Regions from separate parts of the Homo sapiens genome. Here all the other regions are linked to region 3. The links are contacts of gene promoters, found by promoter capture Hi-C in blood cells and fetal thymus (Javierre and others, 2016). All regions are on one chromosome and are shown on one strand. The core of a region is centred on a gene start or on the middle of the fragment in contact, and the rest is flanking DNA. Distances in the headings are between cores, read along the strand shown.

Region 1 (2,965 bases), core at 68-2,567, 290 kb before region 3:
CTACAATCCTAGCTACTCGCTACTTGGAAGGCTGAGCCAAGAGAATTGCTTGAACCCAGGAGGCGGAGGTTGCAGTGAACTGAGATCGTGCCACTGCATTCCAGTTGGGGCGACAGAGCAAGACTCCATCTCAAAAAAAAAAAAAAAGGGGGGGGGGAGTCAGAGTACCTTCTCTTTCCTTCCGGCTGTTGGGCTTGTGCCCCTCTCCTGAGAGCTCCCCTTCAGACCCCCTTCCTAGGCTTCAAGGAACTGTCAAGAATCAGTTCAGGTGGAAAAGCTTTTCAGCCCCCAGCACACACTCGGTAAGATCGGGTGAGTGCCCAGACCTGCTCCCTCCCTTCCTATGCTTATCTCTTTCAGGGCTATGTCTGTGTTGTAACTCTGTTTACCTGTCTGAGTCTGGCTACAGGGGCCTTTTTGAGGGCAGGAACTAGGACTTTTAGCTCTGCCTCCCCACACCCGGCCTGGTGCTTGGCCCACAGCTCTCAGAGTTTTCCAGTGAACAGCATGGATAAATAAAGCCAAGTTAGGACAAATGAGGATGCTGTCATCTCAGCCTTCCCTTCACTGCCTGTGCATACCCAGCCCTCCCTCTCTCCCAGGCCCAGCTTTCCTTTGAGGCCTTCCCCAGATACACAGATAGGGAGAGAGCTGTGGGTGAATGGAAATAATCCCCTACCTCACCATTCACTTCACATCGTGAGCATTTCCGGTCTGGCTGTCCTCTGTGCCTCACTGACAGATAGTTCTCTTTTACAGTCCTCTGGGCCTCAGCTTCATTTGTAAAGTGGGGATAATCATAGCACCTAGCAGAGGGTTTGTAGTGAGGCACCAGTGGGTTCATACCTGCTAAGTGTTTAAAACAGTGCCCGGTATATGGTAACTACTCAATAAATAGAGTGATGGTAATTTCGGACTACGCTTTAGAGCAACAGTGTCCTTCAATTAAATCTCACCTGAGGCTGGCTGCCATGACTCATGCCTGTAATCCAGCACTTTGGGAGGCCGAGGTGGAAGGATCGATTGAGCCCAGGAGTTTGAGAGCAGCCTGAGCAATACAGAGAGACCTTGTCTCTATTAAAAATCAAAAAATTAGCCAGGCGTGGTAGTATGTGCCTGTAGTCCCAACTACTCGGGAGGCTGAGGTGGGAGGATCGCTTGAGCCCTGGAAGTCGAGGCTGCAGTGGGCTATGATTGTGGCACTGCACTCCAGCCTGGGTGACAGAGCTGAGACTCTCTATAAAAAAAAAAAAAAAAAAAAAAAAACCTTACCTAACAACATACAAGCTACTATTTTCCTTTCCTCTTGCCTTTCGTTTTTTTTTAGATAGAATCTTGCTGTGTCACCCAAGCTGGAGTGCAGCGGTTAGATGGAATCTCGCTCTGTCACCCAAGATGGAGTGCAGCGGCGCAATCTCGGCTCACTGCAACCTCCACCTCCTGGGTTCAAGTGATTCTCCTGCCTCAGCCTCTTGAGTAGCTGGGATTACAGGCGCTCGCCCCCATGCCCAGCTAATTTTTGTATTTTTAGTAGAGACCGGGTTTCACCATGTTGGTCAGGCTGGTCTCGAATTCCTGACCTCAAGTGATCCACCCACCTCAGCCTCCCAAAGTGCTAGGATTTACAGGCGTAAGCCACCGTGCCCAGCCTACAAACTATTTTCATTTAGCTACCCACTCTTTTCTTCACCAAACCTGGGCTTGCCCCCAGGAAGAATCCAGTTCAGGAAGAGAACTAAGTACTTTATGCCCTGGGAGGCCTATGTCACTGTGACCAGGGAAAAAAGGGCCAGCTAGGCCTGGAGCAAGAAGCTGGCCTTTTATTGTTGGAATTCAAGACCAGTTGCAATCACTCTGTGGGGTTTTGCAGCCCACCAAACCCCTTGAAGGCATACATTTCAGGGCCAGTGTGGGCCCCTCTCTTCCTGGGGAAGCCACAGCAACTCGATCTTTAATATGCACATGAATTTGCTGCAGATCTTGGAAAATGCAGTGTGACTCAGTAGGTCTGGGTCTGCATTTCTAGCAACCTTCCAGGTTGATGCCAGTGCTGCGAATCTGCAGTTGGGATAACGAACCCACCCGAGTATGCCCACGACTTTCCTAGTTTTGGCACTGAAAGTTCTGCATCCAGGGAAACCAGGACAGTTGGTCGATGTATCCAAAGACCACACTTTGAATGGCAAGGTCAAAGCAAGGAAGCATGTGCTGTTTGTACTGAGTTTCATAGTTCCTCCCACTGGAGTCCCTGGAATAATCCTCTTGTCCTGATAAAGAACTGTGACTCTTTACGCTCTAGAAAGGCCACCTGACTCCAAGCCTCAGCTCTTCAGGGTAGATGCTGGTTTTGGGGGGCCTGAAGCTTATCTAATCTTAGTGGCTCTCTTAAGAAAAAATTTGACCAGGCGCAGTGGCTCACGGCCTGTAATCCCAGCAATTTGGGAGGCTGAGGTGGGTGGATCACCTGAGGTCAGGAGTTCGAGACCAGCCTGGCCAACATGGCGAAACCCCGTCTCTACTAAAAATACAAAAATTTAGCTGGGCGTGGTGGCGGGTGCCTGTAATCCCAGCTACTCAGGACGCTGAGGCAGGAGAATCACTTGAACCCAGAAGGCGGGGGTTGCAGTGAGCTGAGATCACACTGTTGCACTCCAGCCTGGGCAACAAGAGTGAAACTCCATCTCAAAAAAACAAAAAGAAAAGAAAAAATTTAAAATATCTTTGTTTTGCAAATTTTAGAAAACATATAACCATGTGAACAGAGTAAATTTCCCTCTGTCTCTTTGGCCTAAGGCCAAACAGGTGCTCGCATCTTCCTTCTGGGAAAATGGTGCTGGGTGTCTCAGTGGCCAGTGACTGCCACTTCTGCAAGATGACCACCAGGTGGCAGTCGATTTACACAGCCCCCTTCACATGCCCACCCTCTCCCGCCTGGCCACCTCCAGAAATTTCCAACTCTTCCTCC
Region 2 (2,962 bases), core at 147-2,646, 310 kb after region 3:
ATTTCATAGAAGAAAGTAGAATAGTAAATACCAGAGGCTGGGGAAAGTAGGAAAGTGGGGATATTGGGAGAAGTTGGTCAAAAGTTGTAGTTAGATAGGAAGAATAAGCTTTGGTATTCTATTACACAGTAGCATAATTGTAGCAAATAACAATGTAGTGTATATTTCAAGACAGCTAGAAGAAAAGGTTTAGAGTGTTATCACCACAAAGAAATGATAAATGTTTAGAGTGATGGATATGGTAATTATCTCAATTTGATCATTACACTACATATACATGTGTCAAAAAATCACATTGTACCTCATAAATATGTACAATTATATTTAAATTATAAATTAAAAATAAAAATGGTTAAAATGATAAATTTTATGTTACATGTTCTTCAACACAATAAAAAATTAAAAGGAAAGAATATGTGCTCTACAGGCAGACAACTTAGGGTAGGATATTAGCAATATTAGTTTATATGTGACTGGCCATGCATGGTGGCTCATGCTCATAATCCCAGCACTTTGAGAGGTCAAGGCAGGAGGACTGCTTGAGCCTAGGAGTGCAAGACCAGCCTGGGCAACATAGTGAGACCCCATCTCTATAAAAAATGAAAAAAGGCAGCTGGGTGCAGTGGCTCATGCCTGCAATCCCAGCACTGTGGGAGGCCGAGGCAGGCAGATCACCTGAGGTCAGGAGTTCAAGACCAGCCTGGCCAACATGGCGGAAACCTTGCCTCTGCTAAAAATACAAAAATTAGCTAGTCGTGGTGGAGTGTGCCTGTAATCCCAGCTACTCAGGAGGCTGAGGCAGGAGAATCACTTAAACCTGGGAGGTGGAAGTTGCAGTGAGCCAAGATCACGCCATTGCACTACAGCCCGGGCAACAGAGCAAGACTCTGTCTCAGAAAAAAAAAATAATAATAATAATAAAGAAAAGGAAAAGGAAAGAAAAGAAAAAAGGGCCAGGCATGGTGGCTCATGCCTGTAATCCCAGCACTTTAGGAGGCCGAGGTGGGTGGATCACTTGAGGCCAGGAGTTCAAGACCAGCCTGGCCAACATGGTGAAACCCCATCTCTACTAAAAATACAAAAATTAGCCGGGTGTGGTGCCACGCACCTGTAGTCCCAGCTACTCGGGAGGCTGAGCCATGAGAATTGCTGGAATCTATGAGGTGGAGGCTGCAGTGAGCCAAGATGCGCCACTGCATTCTAGCCCGGGCAACAGAGAAAGACTCTGTCTCTAAAAAATGAAAAAATAAAACAAATTTATATGTGACTTTGAACAAGTTACTTACTCTAAGCCTAAATTTCCTGATGTTTAAAATGACAATGCCACTTCCAACAGATTTGTCCTATGGCACAAAAATGGATACGGTAAATGTTAGTTCCTGCCTTTCTCTCATCTAAATTGCCTTCAAGGCTCATGCCATTGTGTTAAACACCTTCAGTGGTAAGAAATCTTTAGTCTTTAATTATGGATTGGAAAATATAATCAACTAAAAGTGTGCAAGCTAAATTTAGTGAATAAATGATAGACAGTTTTTAGCCTAAAAGACATTTTGCAGAAAGAACCCTATGAGTCTGAGCTACACCATGATCATATCACTATTAATTTACTTTTTGGAAAAATTCTCACAGAAGTTCTCAACATTTTTCAAATTATTGTAGGTTAAAATGATGGTCTGTCATTTTAACCTACACTGTCATTCTGCCTGCACTGCATGCCCCTGACATGAACATAATTCTAGAATATTAAAATTGTCCACTGCAGACTTTGGTAACTTGATTTTTGGATGATATGAGACACATGTTTTATTAGATGTTACTATTTCTTCAAAAAATATGATTTTGTCTTATTAGAATCAACTGTATGTGCCTAAAACAATCACTTATTCTGGGTTCTTACAAACCACAAGAATAACAAACCATTCATTGGTATAGGGTCATACTTTATAGTATCTTTAAAATGCGCTCAGGATAATATCCTAAATTTCCATCTGATTTTCTCTTGTCACAATATAAATGCATGCCCTCTTGTCCTAGAGTCTGTTAATAACAGAGTAAGTACAACTACAATTTCGAAGTCTGGCATCTGAGGATACTTATTAAATCATCCTTCATCCTTGCCTTCTCCAAGTTAAATAATCTAAATTCCTTTGCTTATTCTTAATATGTTCTATATTTTCAAAGCCCAAATCATTATATGCAATATTAAGAAAATAACTATTACATACTTCACAACAATAATTAAGAACAAATATAGAGTTAAAATTACAGCTATGTAAAAACAGCAATGTGACAGGTCTAATACAATTATGAATAATAAATGGAGACCCAGAAAAAATGTCATTCATATATTAATTCTACAGCGTGATTCTACTTCTGGCATTCTAGAGCACAATAATCCTTACCAGGGGACTTTCCTTGTTGTGAGTTGCTTCTGTGCTCTCTGTATCTGGCTGGAGTGGCTAAACCTGTGTCTTCACTAGGCTTGCTAGCAGGCCCCATTTCTGAAATGAGGAATCCCATCTGTTCTGACGGCAAGATATTCTCACGTGAACTGGTCTGGCATTTTATGTTGGCATCCACCTAAAATATTAAACCCATTCATTATTTGAGATTTCCTCCAAATATCTGCTAAAAGTTAAGATATTTTATCAGAGGAGTTCTATTATGGGAACATGATCCAACAAACAAGCTTATAAGGCTTTTCATTCTTATTATTGATACTATACCTTTCTCCCTACACAAACTATTAAAATGTATATGGAGCTAAAACATTTACTTATGATCAGAGGAATATCTACCATGAAGCTTGTTGATTTTTTTTTAACTTACAAAAGTACAGGTTTTTTTTTTTGTTTTAAGGCAGGGTCTCACATTGTTGTCCAGGCGGGAGTACAGTGGTACAATCATAGCTCACTGTAACCTCGAGCTCATGGGCTCAAGTGATCCTCCTGAGCAGCTAGGA
Region 3 (3,248 bases), core at 106-2,605:
AAATGTTGAATCAGTGTTTAAAAAACCTCCCAACCAAGAAAAGTCCAGTACCAGATGGCTTTAGTGGTAAATTCTGCCAAACATTTAAAGGAGTATGAACACCAATACTATGCAAGTTCTTGTAAAAAAAAAAAAAAAAAACAGAAGCAAAGGGAACACTTTTTAACACATTCTATGAGGCCAGCATTATCTTGATACCAAAGCCAGACAAAGATACAAGAAAAGAACTACAGACCATATTCTTTATAAATACAAATGCGAAAATTATGAGATGCCACTTCACTCTCACTATTCTAAGTAAGATGGTTATTCCTCAAAAGATTAGGCACAGTTGCTATAAAATCCAGCAATTCCACATCTAGCTATATACCAAAGAAAAATGAAAGAATACATCCACACAAAATCCTATACATGAATATTCCTAGCAGCTTTATTCATAATAGCTAAAAAGTGGAAAGAACTCAAATGTCCGAGAGCTGACTGACTGATTTACAAAAGTGGTATATCCATATGATGTAATATTATCCAGTCATAAAAAGGAATGACTGGTACATGACTAGTACTGGTACATGCTACAGTACAGATGAAACTTAAAAACATAAGTGAAAGAAGCAGGACACAAAAGCCATATATCATCATATGTGTGTTATATGATTCAATTTTTAGGAAATGTCCAGAACAGGCAAATCCAGAGACAAAAAGTAGATTAGTGGTTTCCAGAGACTGAGGAGAGAACAGAATGGGCAGTGACTGCTAAAGGATATGAGATTTCTTTTCAGAACGAAGAAAATGTTCTGGAATTAGGTAGTGGTGATGGTTACACAAGTTTGTGAATATACTAAAAACCACTGAATGGTTAAAATCATTTAATAATTGTGAAGCTTATGGTAGTTGAATTATATCTTGAGGATGAACTTAGCCAATTTACATTGAGAGTTCACTTTGGCTGAGAGAAGAGCAGATCAGAGATTGGGATAAGAGATGGTACCTTAATGACTGTACATATGAAAAAGGCTTTGGAGTTTATAGAGGGGGTGACCTGGACTGTGTCCTAGGACATAACTCACTTTTCCAACTACAGTGGTGATAGGAGAGGGTGGAGGCCTTGCACTGCCCATGGTGCTGAGGGATTTGGTTCTTGTAAACCTCCCTGGGAATTCACGTCTCTTTAGGGTTCTTATCCTTCTTCATCTTGGTCCTTTGATCAGTAACTCTGAAATGTTGGCCCCAAGACAGTCTCCCAATAATTATGTGCATCTGATGCAACATCTCACATACTTTTTAATAACTCCCATTGCTCATTTGCCCTTAGCAGCCTGAGCCAGGCTTTATCTTATGAATTAAGCCTAAGTTTTACTCCCCAAGGAATTTCCCTTTCCTTAAGGCCAATCCCATATGTGTTCCTTGTCTGAGAGAGGCCAGGAGAAGAATGGAGCTACAGGAGAAGAGTGACCTGGGAGATGGGAGGCTCTAAGTCCTCTTGGCCACTGTGGGCTGGAGGAAGGTGATGGCCTCATTGTCCTTCCCATGGACAAATCAGCACGACAAAGCCTATCGTGAGACAAGCATGGGGTGGAGGGAAGGCATGGGGGAAGTCATCAGGCATTAATGCAAGGGGAACGGGATTTGGGAAACATTGATTTTATCTAACATTAAGACTTTTGTCTGTATTGGCTTATGTGCTGGGTGGAATTTAGAACAGAGGGTGGGAGGGAGAGCGGAATATAGACATACACTGTTATCTCCCCCGCCTCCCACATACATACTACAGCTTCTTCCCACACCTAGGAGAAAACACAAACAGGTCTTGCTCTGACACTTTCCACCCTCTACTGTTCCTTTTTAAGTCTCATCTTCCTCCATCTTCCCCCTTCTCCTGCCTGCTTCTCTCACTCACTCCAGATTTTCTTCCCTTCTTTATTGCTGTCCCTCCATCTTATCCTCTCTTTTCTTAAATCTTGTGTTTAACAATACCTGTTAATGCTCCCTGGATGACAACAGACTAGATTCTACCCCATTTTGGGAACCCACTTATTCCTTCTCCCCTCGTCTCTCCTAGTCCTGTGTGGGCTGATTTTCTAAGAGCAAAGACAGATGGGAGAGAAGATTGAGTAACAACAGAAGAGGTCTAGAATCCTCCCCTTTCCCCATACAGATCCATGTCCCTCCCTATGTCTATTTTCTTTCTTGTCTAGAATCCCTCTAAATCTATTTTCTATGCATGTAGGGGGAGGAAGCATTTGCAAAGATTCTGATGGGTTTGTGGAAAGAATCGGGCCATGCTAAGATGATGCTTCTAGGATTGTAAATCTGGTGATGCTGGGAATTAGGATTCTTGGATTCTCTTTGAGGTCCTATAAACTGCATTCTATCCAGTGGCTACTCTCTCTTTCTTCCCAGCTCTCACGGCAGTCTGGCCCATCCCAGCACCCTGTCCTCCATTAAGCAATCACACATTCTTTTGGGAACCAACTATGAGAAAGGGTCTGTGTGTACCACGTACTGTGTAATACTTAACATATTGGATTTGCACTGAAATTACAACACATGTGAGGAACAGAGCCATCCTCATGAAAAAATACCAAGGCATAGCAACATTATGGAAGAGCTAATTACTCTTGAACCTTGAAGGAAGGGTAGAATTCAGACAGGTGAACAGGACAGAAAAGCAATTCAGATGCGGCACTGACTGGATGAAGGCACTGAGACCTGAGGGACCGAAGAAGAGATAAGTTTGGCTGAAGCTGAATCTTCTTAGAGGAGAGCAGGTAAGAGGAGAATAGTCATTAGGAGTGCAAATTCTGGGTCAATCAGACCTGGCTCAGAATCCCAGCTCTGCTTCTTCTTCTCCATGTGATCTGGGAGAAATTAGTTAACCTATTCAAGCCACAGTTTACTTATCTGTAAAGTGGAGATAATTTATGGTACTTACTATACTTATAAACATGGGAATAATATGTGAGAATTAAAAAAGATAATGCCAGCAAAATATTTAGTATAGTGTCTATCACATAGTAAGCATTCAAAAAATGTTTACTACGATGACAATTACTGCTATTACAACAATAAATGCTTACTACCACAGTTATTACCATTACTACAATTACAATAAATGCTTACTACTACTACTATTAAGTGGCAGATGGACCTGGAAAGAAAGGTAGGAGCCTGTTTGTGTGGAAGCCCCTGAAATCCTAACTAAGTACAAATTCCTTCCTGTAGACAATAAAGAGCCATGGAAAATTTTT

The links. Contacts are between HindIII fragments. The CHiCAGO score rates a contact against its expected background, and 5 or more counts as called.
Region 1: a contact is called between a fragment that was not itself captured here and the fragment with the promoter of OR4D1 in region 3, in 1 of 17 cell types (non-activated CD4 T cells). The highest score is 5.3, in non-activated CD4 T cells.
Region 2: a fragment that was not itself captured here is called in contact with the fragment with the promoter of OR4D1 in region 3 in 2 of 17 cell types (M1 macrophages and M0 macrophages); the score reaches 5.6 in M1 macrophages.

What each region holds. Positions count from the first base shown.
Region 1 is chr17:57,855,224-57,858,188 of GRCh38, forward strand. No RefSeq gene overlaps it. Among named protein-coding and RNA genes, the nearest start is that of MRPS23, 6.7 kb to the left of the region's middle. The HindIII fragment of the contact is 2,085 bases long and covers 276-2,360 here.
Region 2 is chr17:58,456,366-58,459,327 of GRCh38, forward strand. It overlaps HSF5 (heat shock transcription factor 5), which reads right to left. Exons shown (of 6, transcript NM_001080439.3): 5 at 2,403-2,580. Among named protein-coding and RNA genes, the nearest start is that of HSF5, 31 kb to the right of the region's middle. The HindIII fragment of the contact is 2,581 bases long and covers 107-2,687 here.
Region 3 is chr17:58,147,029-58,150,276 of GRCh38, forward strand. OR4D1 (olfactory receptor family 4 subfamily D member 1) reads left to right here and starts at 1,356. Exons shown (of 4, transcript NM_001386095.1): 1 at 1,356-1,556; 2 at 2,401-2,768. The HindIII fragment of the contact is 12,158 bases long and covers 880-3,248 here.